Linked DNA regions of Homo sapiens: regions 2, 3 and 4 are each linked to region 1. The links are contacts of gene promoters, found by promoter capture Hi-C in blood cells and fetal thymus (Javierre and others, 2016). All regions are on one chromosome and are shown on one strand. Each heading gives the region's core, a stretch centred on a gene start or on the middle of the fragment in contact. The rest is flanking DNA. Distances are from core to core; before and after follow the strand shown. Region 1 holds the start of PCF11 (PCF11 cleavage and polyadenylation factor subunit). Region 2 overlaps USP35 (ubiquitin specific peptidase 35). Region 3 overlaps EED (embryonic ectoderm development). Region 4 has its middle 3.6 kb from the start of EED.

The links. The method cuts DNA at HindIII sites, captures the fragments that hold promoters and counts their contacts. A CHiCAGO score of 5 or more calls a contact.
Region 2: a fragment that was not itself captured here is called in contact with the fragment with the promoter of PCF11 in region 1 in 1 of 17 cell types (non-activated CD4 T cells); the score reaches 6.4 in non-activated CD4 T cells.
Region 3: a fragment that was not itself captured here is called in contact with the fragment with the promoter of PCF11 in region 1 in 1 of 17 cell types (M0 macrophages); the score reaches 7.0 in M0 macrophages.
Region 4: a fragment that was not itself captured here is called in contact with the fragment with the promoter of PCF11 in region 1 in 6 of 17 cell types (fetal thymus, erythroblasts, total CD4 T cells and 3 more); the score reaches 18.7 in fetal thymus.

The regions. Positions count from the first base shown.
Region 1 is chr11:83,155,765-83,158,431 of GRCh38, forward strand. PCF11 (PCF11 cleavage and polyadenylation factor subunit) reads left to right here and starts at 1,367. Exons shown (of 16, transcript NM_001346413.3): 1 at 1,367-1,867. The coding sequence starts at 1,676. RefSeq lists silencers at 943-1,022, 2,473-2,532 and enhancers at 1,223-1,272, 1,337-2,126, 1,423-1,672. The HindIII fragment of the contact is 1,033 bases long and covers 417-1,449 here.
Region 2 is chr11:78,199,330-78,201,996 of GRCh38, forward strand. It overlaps USP35 (ubiquitin specific peptidase 35), which reads left to right. Exons shown (of 11, transcript NM_020798.4): 4 at 266-395; 5 at 804-905; 6 at 1,321-1,479. Among named protein-coding and RNA genes, the nearest start is that of USP35, 12 kb to the left of the region's middle. The HindIII fragment of the contact is 2,768 bases long and covers 1-2,667 here.
Region 3 is chr11:86,257,826-86,260,492 of GRCh38, forward strand. The region is part of intron 6 of EED (embryonic ectoderm development); the gene reads left to right. Among named protein-coding and RNA genes, the nearest start is that of EED, 14 kb to the left of the region's middle. The HindIII fragment of the contact is 1,764 bases long and covers 473-2,236 here.
Region 4 is chr11:86,239,811-86,242,477 of GRCh38, forward strand. No RefSeq gene overlaps it. Among named protein-coding and RNA genes, the nearest start is that of EED, 3.6 kb to the right of the region's middle. The HindIII fragment of the contact is 945 bases long and covers 899-1,843 here.

The sequences.
Region 1 (2,667 bases), core at 117-2,616:
TTTTAGGTAATTGACACTTTTTTTTTTTTGAGACAGACTCTCGCTGTCACCAGCCTGGAGTACAGTGGCGTGATCTCGGCTCACTGCAACCTCCACCTCCCGGGTTCAAGCGGTTCTCCTGCCTCTGCCTCCCGAGTAGCTGGGACTACTATAGGCGCACGCCACCACGCCCAGCTAATTTTTGTATTTTTAGTAGAGACGGGGTTTCACCATGTTGGCCAGGGTGGTCTCGATCTCTTGATCTCGTGATCCGCCCGCCTCGGCCTCCCAAAGTGCTGGGATTACAGGCGTGAGCCACCGCGCCCAGCCCGTAATTGACACATTTTAAAAGCTTATATTTAGGTCAATATCGCTACTCAATGAAAAAATTACGTTTGGTTTGTGTTATGTCGCAGCTCCACGGTGAACTATTTGAAAGCTTTGTGTGTTTTACGAGCATCATTTCCAACCTGGGAAGACAGCCCCACAAGTTTAAAACAAAAGTGCATGCGCGTGTGTGTTTTCCTACGTGCCCCAAATAGTGTATGCTAAGGAGGTTCTGAAATGCAGATTCACAGTGGAGATATTACGGTCCAGCTGGGTGTGGCTGTTGTGAAAAACTCTTCCTAGAGCTCATAGTGGGCTCCTTAAAGAGCTCCTCCAAACCCCCAAGGAAAAAGCCTTTCACACTTAATCTCTAAATAAAAGGCATTTTCCTGGGGATTCAAGTCAGGCAAGCTCGCCTAGGTATTTTTGTGGGTGTGGGAAGCGGCGTGCTGGAAGAAACTCTCCAGCAGTGCTTTCCGAAGTTCCGGGTAAATTGGGCACCTCCCTCCCACTTCCCAGTTCCCAGAGGGGCAGCTGGACCCGCCCTGGCTCTCCAGAGCACCTGAGACGCTAAGGGAGAGGGGGTGCGGCGGCAGAAAGCCTCCGCTCCCTCCAACCCCCGCTCCCTCCAACCCCCACCGTCGGTAGCAGCTACGGGGCAGGCGGGAGGAAAGATGATTGACAGGCCCGCTCAGTGGCTGGGAAGCTAGAGGGAGGGACGAAGAGGGGACGGCTGAGTCTTCTTCTCAAAGTGGTTGGGTTGGGCCGCGGGAACTGCCTTCCCAGGCCTATTGGCTTCCCTGAATGGGTTGTTATGGTAACAAATGACCGAACAGTCCCTTATGAATCGGCCAATGAGAAGGGCCGTCTTTTCCAGTGCGCCTCCGAGCAGTAGATGTTGCGAAAGTCCGGGTAGAGGCCGGAGAAGAAGGCGGTGCCAGGGCGTCCTGCGGAAGGGCCGGGGGCGGGGCTCGTGACGTTGCCGGGACAGCCAATCACGCCTGGTTTTATCAGTGGCCCCGCCCTTTTACCGCACATTTCCCCTCCCCTAGTTCATTTCGCACGACGCAGCGGTTGGGAACACAGACATTTTCGGAGCTGGAGCCGCCACTGCCGCCGCCATTTTGTGTCTGTGGAGAAAGAAGCTTCTGTGGCGGCTGGAAGTGGACGGAGATCACCCGCGAGACGGCGGCGTTTCATACCCGAGGTTCCCCCTGTGTCGTCCCCCATCCCCCCTCCGCGGTCAGCATGTGGTGAAGCCGGAGCCGCGAGAGAGCCGGGGAGAGGAAGAGGAGTCGGAAGGGAGGCGGGGTATCCAGAGCGGCTTCAGCTTCAGCTGCAGCGGACCTCGGAGGGGGGCCGCGGCGCAATGTCAGAGCAGACGCCGGCCGAGGCCGGTGCTGCGGGGGCCCGGGAGGACGCCTGTCGGGATTATCAGTCATCGCTCGAAGACCTGACCTTCAATAGCAAGCCGCACATCAATATGCTGACCATTCTAGCCGAGGAGAACCTGCCCTTCGCCAAGGAGATCGTCTCTCTCATCGAGGCCCAAACCGCCAAGGTTTTTATACACCCCGCAGCCTCCTATTACTTCTAATACTCCCTGATTTTAGTGTCAGCCTCATCCCAGGTCTCGCTTCCATCCCAAGGGGGACAGTGTTCCTTCTCTCCAACCCCCCCACCCCCCTCCAACTCAGGCTCGGTCTTTGGCCCAGGCTTCGAGCATGGGCCTCTGGGGGGGAGGGAGTGGGGAGGATAAAGGGTGGAGTCCCACTTCCGCTTTCCAACTCCCTTTTTAGGCCACCGCATTGTATATCCCGACACACACACGCTTTGAATAGAGCCCTTTGGGGTGGGGGAGACTTAAAGGCAGTTTGTGGTTTGGGGAAGTAAGAGTTAACATAAGCCATTTTAATTCCCTGGGAAGTGGGAGAGTGGGTCTCCCATTTTCCCCAAGCACCCTTTTTGGTAATTGTGTTCTGTGGGTTGGAAGGAGGTGAAGGGGGACCTGGGAGCGAGCTGTTGGTGGGTGGGAATAGGGATTTGGCCCCGAGTGGAGCAGCCGCCTGTTAGGAGCCCAACATGGCGCCTGAAAAGCACATGATGCGAAAGGGAAGAGAGGAGAATCCATTCCCTGCCAGCCAGGCAGCTGCTCACTCCCGTCAGCCCCATTTTGGGGTGGGGGCGGCTAGATAAAACTTTTATTCTCCTATTGGAGGGTCTAATTTGTCCCAAAATAGGGGCAAGTGGGGTTGAGGGTGGGGTTTGGGTGGGGGGAGGAGATCTTATCCAACCTGTAGGTGGAGAACTGGCCCAGAGGGTAACAAGTACTTGCAGTTTCTCTGAAAAGTTCAGTCCCTC
Region 2 (2,667 bases), core at 68-2,567, 5.0 Mb before region 1:
CCCAGTGTGGAGGGGCGAGACTTGGGGTGCTGAGAGGGCCTGGCTCCCTTCTTGGTGGGCTGGGAGCCTCAGTGTCTGGCAGGTGGCTGTGCTGGGCTTGTGCATTTCCCAGCCATGTCTGGTTCAGCCCACAGACCCCGGGGCTGCCCTTTGCAGGTGTGAGTCAATGTGGGAACCCAGGACATTACGGATAGCCCCTGGGCTGCCCTCACCCCAGCATTTTGGGTGTCCCTTGTCCCTGTGTCACTGTCACTCCCCTCACCAGGATGATTGACTGGGTGTCCTGGCCCCTGGGGAAGAATATTGACAAGTGGATCATTGCACTGCTGAAGGGCCTGGCTGCTGTTAAGAAGTTCAGCATCTTGATCGAGGTTTCGCTCACCAAAATTGAGAAGGTTGGTGCCCCTGTCCTAGCCCAGAGTTACAGCCTTTTGTACTAGGCTCTTGCCAGGGGCGGTGCAGGTCTGGGAGGTCAGAGCATTGGGCCTACCCACCAAGCTCGCTGTGTGACCTGGGCGAATTCACTGCCCCTCTCTGGGCCTCAGATTCTCCCCATTAGTTTCCCTGACTACTCATCCAAGTATGTGTGTCTGACTTTTGGTGTGTCCATCCATTCCTCAGATATCTATGTTGCTGTCCATCTCACCATCTGTCTGTCCATCTGGGTCTGTGAGCACCTCAGTGTTGATCCCTCTGCATGGGTTTGAACTCTAGGGTGTCTCTGAGTCCCCTCTCAGGCTTGTGATTCTACTTGGCCTCAGCAGCTCAAGCCTGGGGACTCCTGACCAGGGACTCTCTTGTAGGTTTTCTCTAAGCTGCTGTACCCCATCGTCCGGGGAGCTGCCTTGTCTGTGCTCAAGTACATGCTCCTGACCTTCCAGCACTCCCACGAAGCCTTCCACCTGGTAAGGTCCCCTGCCTGCTGCCCCTGGTGAGGCCCCTGCCTGCTGCCCCTGGTAAGGGCCCTGCCTACTGCCCCTGGTAAGGGCCCTGCCTGCTGACCCTGGGCTCTTGGGGCAGGTCACTTGGCTGAGGCCAAGCAGCTGGATCGTGGGCTCTGGCCTCCCTTTGACTGTGAGGAGAGGAGTAGTCATCCTATTTTGCAGATGAAGAAACTGAGGCAGGGTGTCTTAGATCATATTGTTGGGAAAAGGAGTCACCTGCCTGCAGAGCTCAGAGCCCCATCTGGGTCAGGGGACAGTGGTCAGGTGGGCAAGCCTCCCTACCTCAGAGAGTGTTGCGTGCTGTCAGCAGGGACCACAGCCCCGTGTCTCAGGTGGGCGGGTTGGTGCTGAGCCTGACGCAGCTCTGCTCCCACAGCTCCTCCCTCACATCCCCCCCATGGTGGCCTCTCTGGTCAAGGAGGACTCGAACTCGGGGACCAGCTGCCTGGAGCAGCTGGCGGAGCTGGTCCACTGCATGGTGTTCCGGTTCCCGGGCTTCCCGGATCTGTATGAGCCTGTCATGGAGGCCATCAAGGTGAGCGACAGTCCCCTACTTGGGCCTTGCCCCACTCTGACAAAGGTACCAGTGTGGGCCTTCCAGCGGGCCATACCACAGCTTGGTGGCAGTCCCCGTCATTTGGTGCCTGGCTGTCTCCCATCACCTCCCCAGGTCCATCATGTGCCTCAAGCACACTGAGCCACTCACGTTCCCCAAGTAGGCTGGGCTGCCTCATGGCTGCTCTGGGCTTTTGCACACACTGTGCTTTCTAACCATAAACGCTTCTCTGTCAGTGTAGTATGGAAATTAAAACACGTTCTCTTTCTCTGCTCTGCCTGGACAGCTCCTGCTTACCTTGTAAGTCTCTGTTCTAGTGTTACTTCCCTCAGGATGCCTTTCCTGATCACTCTCAGTACTCCCATGCCCTCCACCAGGCTGGGCTAGGGCCTCGCTGGGCTCCCACAGTCTTGGTACATCCCTCTGTCACATGTTATCACTGTCTGTCTGCCTCCCTTGCCAGACTGTGAGCACTCCAGACCAGGGATAATTTACAGTCGTTCACATGACTTTACTGACGTCCTGCTCTGCACCAAGCCCAGGCTGGGAACTGGGGGCATGGGCATGAAGCAAACGGAGTCTCCTCCATTGAGAGGATCGCAGCCTGGTGAGGGTGACAGACTTGGATACGAGAAACTCTGGTCGGAGCAGCTTTTGAAAATGTCTACAAGGTTTGGCTTGAGAGCAGTGAGAAACCAGAGGAAGGAAAGATCTTCTCCAGTTAGAGAGGACAGATGAGGCCTCTAAGAAGAAAGAGTTTCTTAGAGGCCTCATCAAGCTGGGCTTGACGGGTTGCTAGGATCTGACAGTGACTAACATCTGTGGCTACTGCTACACTTGAGATTATTTTCCTGTATGTTTTGTCTTCTGATGCTCACAAGAAACCTACAAAGATGATACGGTTCATTTCAATCTCATAGATGAGGAAAAGGAGACTTGGAGAAGTTTGGTGACTTGTGCAAAGTCACAGAGGTAGTGAGACATGTAGCTGGAGTCTGGATGGCAGAGCCTTCCCCATTGCCTGATAGAGAAGGCAGGTTGGGTGGGGTGAAGGGGTCTAGGTAGGTGGCCCTTGCAGAACCTTTGATCTGACTTTTACATCTGCAGCACAGCAGACGAGATAACCTGAAAAGTGTCCTGCTACAAAACAGCTAGAAATGCTTGTTA
Region 3 (2,667 bases), core at 105-2,604, 3.1 Mb after region 1:
GCATCACCCTTGTTACTGATTTTGTGGCCAATCTTATTTCAAAACAATTATGTAATCCTTCTCATTTTTTTCTTTAAAAACCTCTGTCTTTCCTTTACGTCTCGGAGAACACACATAGTTTACTTTGGCATGTACATTCTCATTGCAGTGCATTATTTCCATATAAACATCTTTTATTTTAGAGAGCCTCTCTGTTACTTAGGTTGACAGGTCCTGTTTTATTTTAAGTCTAGTATCTGTTAGTTATTTTTCCTGATCTTCTTACTCCTCCCACCCTCTACCCTCCAGTAGGCCCCAGTGTATGGACAGATAGTGTTCTAAGGAAATAAAGCCAAATTAAAAAAAAGGTTATAACAGTACATTTTAGTAGGAAAATCCCAGGCTATGTTAGCATATCCAAATCATTTTGTCCAATCATGTAATAATAAATACTACATATGAAAATTCATATTGCTTTTTTATTTTTTAAAAAAGCTTTTGTTTTATAAAGGATTTCCTATAGAATTTCTTAAAAATGCTACGTTTTTCAGGATAAGTTATTTGAAATATTCCCATAAAGGGAAAGCATTGCATTTTGGAAATCACTACCTCTAGGAAGAGTTGATTACTTTTTCTTGTCTCTTGATAACACTAATTGGGGCTCAGATATTTCTGAACAACTGTATAGACCGTAATGCCTCACTTGTTCTAAATATTACAACTTTTTTTTTCTCTTTTCTTTGTTTTTTGGTTTTTTTTTTTTTTTTTGAGACAAAGTTTCGCTCTTGTTGCGGAGGCTGGAGCGCAATGGTGCAATCTCGGCTGACTGCAACCTCTGCCTCCCGGGTTTAAGAGATTCTCCTGCCTCAGCCTCTCGAGTAGCTGGGATTACAGGCATGTACCACCATGCCCGGCTAATTTTTGTATTTTTAGTAGAGATACGGTTTCTCCACATGGGTCAGGCTGGTCTTGAACTCCTGACCTCAGTTGATCCGCCTGTCTCAGCCTCCTAAAGTGCTGAGATTACAGGTGTGAGCCACTGCGTCCTGCCTCTATTTATTTATTTATTTATTTATTTTTGAGACAGAGTCTTGCTTTGGCGCCCAGGCTGGAGTGCAATGGCTCTATCTCGGCTCACTGCAACCTCTGCCTCCTGGGTTCAGGTGATTCTCCTGCCTGACCCTCCCGAGTAGCTGGGATTACAGGCGCCCTCCACCATGCCTGGCTAATTTTTTTTATTTTTAGTAGAGATGAGGTTTCTCCATGTTGGCCAGGCTGGTCTCAAACTCCTGACCTCAGGTGGTCCACCCGCATCGGCCTCCCAAAGTGCTGGGATTATAGGCGTGAGCCACTGCGCACAGCCCAACATCACAACTTTTAACCCTGGTCTTCCTCTATTGTGTCAGTAAGAGCATTTTTAAAAATCAGAAGTTTGAGCATGAATAAGAATTTTGCTCCAAGTGATACTATCAAGAAAGTAAAAAAGCCTACTCAAAAGGAGAAAAAATATTTATAAATCATTCTGATAAAGGACTTTGATTTTTATTTTTTGTTTTTGGAGACAGGGTCTTGCCCAGTCACCCAGGTTGAGTGCAGTGGTGTGATCATGGCTCACTGTAGCCTCAACCTACCAAGTAGTTAGGACTACAGGCACGTGCCGCCATACCTGGCTAATTTTGTAAAAAATGTTTTTGTAGAGATGAGGTCTCCCTGTGTTACCTAGACTGGTCCTCAAACTCCTGGCCTCAAGCAGTCCTCCTACCTTGGCCTCCTAAACTGCTGGGATTACAGGCATGAGCCATGATTCCCAGCTAATAAGGGACGTGTATCAAGAATTTTTATAGCTCAACAATAAAAAGACAGCCCAATTTAAAAATGGCCAAAAGTTCTGAATGACATTTCTTCACAGAGCATACACAGATGGCCACTGAGCACATGAAAAGATGTTTAACATATTAATCATTAAGGAAATACAAATCAAAACCATAATGAAATACCACTTCACACCTACTTAGGGTGGCTGTAATAAAAACGTTAGATACTAACAAGTATTGACTGGCACAAGAAGAAATCAGAGCCCTCTCAGACACTGCTGGTGGGAATGTAAAATGTAACTACTTTGAAAAACAATCTGGCAGTTCCTCAAAATGTTACAGAGTCACTAATCCTAGATGTTTACATATGTATGTATATCCTAGGGTTGTGTGGGTGGGGGTGTACATATGTATCCCCAACAGAAATAACATGTCCATACAAAAGCTTGTACAAAATTGAAATCAAGGAATCATTTTTACAGCACTGTTAATTTTCACATGTATTACTACCTCTGGGGTGTTTATGTGATGCATTTATATTCACAGACAGAATGAACATTGTTATATTTCAAGCTTACATGACGTGTCTTTGCTTTACATTCTTTCTTTTTTTTAAATACTGTTTTAGAGACAGGATCTCACTCTGTCAACCAGGCTATAGTAGAGTGATGTGATCACAGCTCACTGTAGCTTGAGCTCCTGGCCTCAAGCAATGTTCCCACCTCATCCTTCTGAGTAGCTGGGACTACATGTGCACACCACCATGCCTGGCTAATTTTTAAAAATTTTTTGTAGAGATACGGTTTCATTATGTTGTCCAACCTGGTCTCAAACTCCTGGCCTCAAAAGATCCTCACACCTTGGCCTCCCAAAG
Region 4 (2,667 bases), core at 121-2,620, 3.1 Mb after region 1:
ACATCTAAAAAACATTATGCTGAGCAAAAGAAGCCAGATACAAAAGAGAACATACTGAATTATTCTATTTATATGAAGTTCTACAATAGGCAAAACTAATATGCAAATATAGGCAAAACAGAATAGTGGCTGCCTGGGGAGAAAGAGAGGAGAGGTTTGACTGGGAAGAGGCATGAGAAAACTTTCTGAGGTGTTGGAAAGCTCCATCTGTATCTTGATGGTGTGTGGATTATATGGGTGTATGCCTGTGTCAAAACACATGGAACTATATACTTGAGATCTGTGCATTTCACTGTATATAAGTGAAATAAATACAAACAGAGTTAAAATAATGCCATTCTAATTCCTTCTGTATAAGTCTTATCAACAGGAGATACATGTTAATAGACTTGTCTTAAGAAGGTCTATAAGATCCTCCACGATCTGGCCCCTTACCTTCTTTTCTAGCCTTCTCTGTTACCACACTTTTGTCACCTTCTCTTTTCAGTCCTTCACCAGCACTGACCTTTCAGTGTACCAATGGCGTTTGTACTCTTCTCATATTCCTGCGCCAGGACTTTTGCACATGCTGTTATCACTCCCTAGAATGTTTCTCCTTCTCTTCTTAATGGGAGACTGGTTAACTCCCATTCTTCTTTTAGTTCTACTCTTCTGTCTGTTTCTCAGGGAAACCCTCCCATGTCTCACTTTATTACACACGTCCATGGAAACTTTGTCCAGCTGCTGTGTATGCCTGTGCAGCTTGTTCATCTAAACAAGGGTTCCCAGCTGAGGTGACAACTAAAACTAAAATCAAATTTGTGCTCCACTCACAAAGCCTTGCACACGGAGCAGGGTTGTATCAATCTGGAAAAGGGGGTGCCTTTTCTAATTTACCAAAGTCATTGTTTGCTTGCCAAGCTTTACCTACTCTGGGCTCTTTCTGCTATGGCCTTTTAAAAAATAGCACAAAGATACCATATGGGCTAGCAGCAGCCCTGACCTTGTACTTCCCCTTCATACCACTTACCACGGTAATTTCACATTTATTTGGTTAATGCTTGTTTCTCCTACTTGTCAATAAGCATGATGACAGCAGGAAATTGTCTGGTTTTGCTTATTGTCAAGTTTCCTCAGCACCTGGAACAGTGTTGGGCACACAGTAGGTACTCAGTAAATATATATTAAATCTATTCGTTATTTTTCTTTTTTTTTTTTTTAAGACAGAGTTTCACTCTTGTCACCCAGGCTGGAGTGCAATGGTGTGATCTCAGCTCACTGCAAACCTCAACCTCCCGGTTTCAAGCTATTCTCTCACCTCAGCCTCCCGAGTAGCAGGGATTACAGGCTCCAGCCACCACGTCAGGCTAATTTTTGTATTTTTAGTAGAGACGGGGTTTCGCCATGTTAGCCAGACTAGTCTCGAACTCTTGACCTCAGGTGATCCACCTGCCTCGGCCTCTCAAAGTGCTGGGATTACAGGCATGAACCACCACGCCCGGCCCCATTCGTTATTTCTTAACGCTGGATGAATATTAGGCTGTTTGAAGGTAGAGACTGTGTCTTATTTTCTTTTTTATTGTCCCCTCCTCCCCATTGCCCCTGGAATTATCCTACTGCTTTGCATGTAAATGGCATTCAGTAAATTCTTCCTGATTGATTTGAAAACGTTCAAATAAGCCATATGATGTTCTGTTCATAGAAAACCAGATCTGCAAGCATATGATTACACATTGCATGAATGATGATGAACAGCTGCTATTTATGAAGCAGAAGAGACAAAAATGTTGAATGAATGAGAAATAGACTCCAGTTGAAATGGGAAGGATTTAATTTAGCTTTTGAAACTCATTTCCTGATATGAAGCTTACAAGATACCAGGAGACAATGCCAAGGAACGCTGTGAATTTTCTTTTTCTATATAAGTAAATGATCTTGGAAAGTTCCAAGATGGATCAACCACTTACTTGAAGGCTAAGGGGTATTTCTTACTGAATTCTCAACAGCCAAGTATGAGATAGATATTTTAAAGTAAGTTTTTATTTTGGAATACTTTTACAGAAAATTTACTAAGAACAAAGATAGCATAGAGAGTTCCTGTATTCCCCTCATCCAGTTTCCCTCATTATTAACATCTTACATTACCATGTTACATTGGTCAAAATTAAGTAAAGACTGAAATCCGTACATTACTATAAACTATGCTATAGATTCTTTGTTTGTTTTCCCAGTTGTATCTTCTTTCTGTCCCAAGTGAGATAGCTTTTTAAAGTTCTTTGATACTTTATAAACAATTCTGTGGTCTAAAGACCAAGCTCTGTGCATAGAATTACATAAATTTAGAGCTGCCTGGGTCCCTCATCTTGAGGTAAAAGTGCTTTGGCTTTCCAATCAATTGAACACAATCTCTAGTACTGCCACTTGAACAGCTGTGTGTCTTTGGGCATACTGTTTACTTATCCTAAGTCTTAGTTTCCTCATTTGTAAAATGTGGGTAGTAAGACCTCTCCAACTGTGATGGTTCCTGAGATCTTTCACAGTAGGAGAATGCAGTGTTGAGAAACGTACAAATTTTTCTTTTTTAGAGAAGTAGGTCTCCTTATGCAGCGCAGCCTGGCTTTGATATCCCGGGCTCAAGCAATCTTCCTGCCTTAGTCTCTTGAGTAGCTGGAACTACAGGTACACATC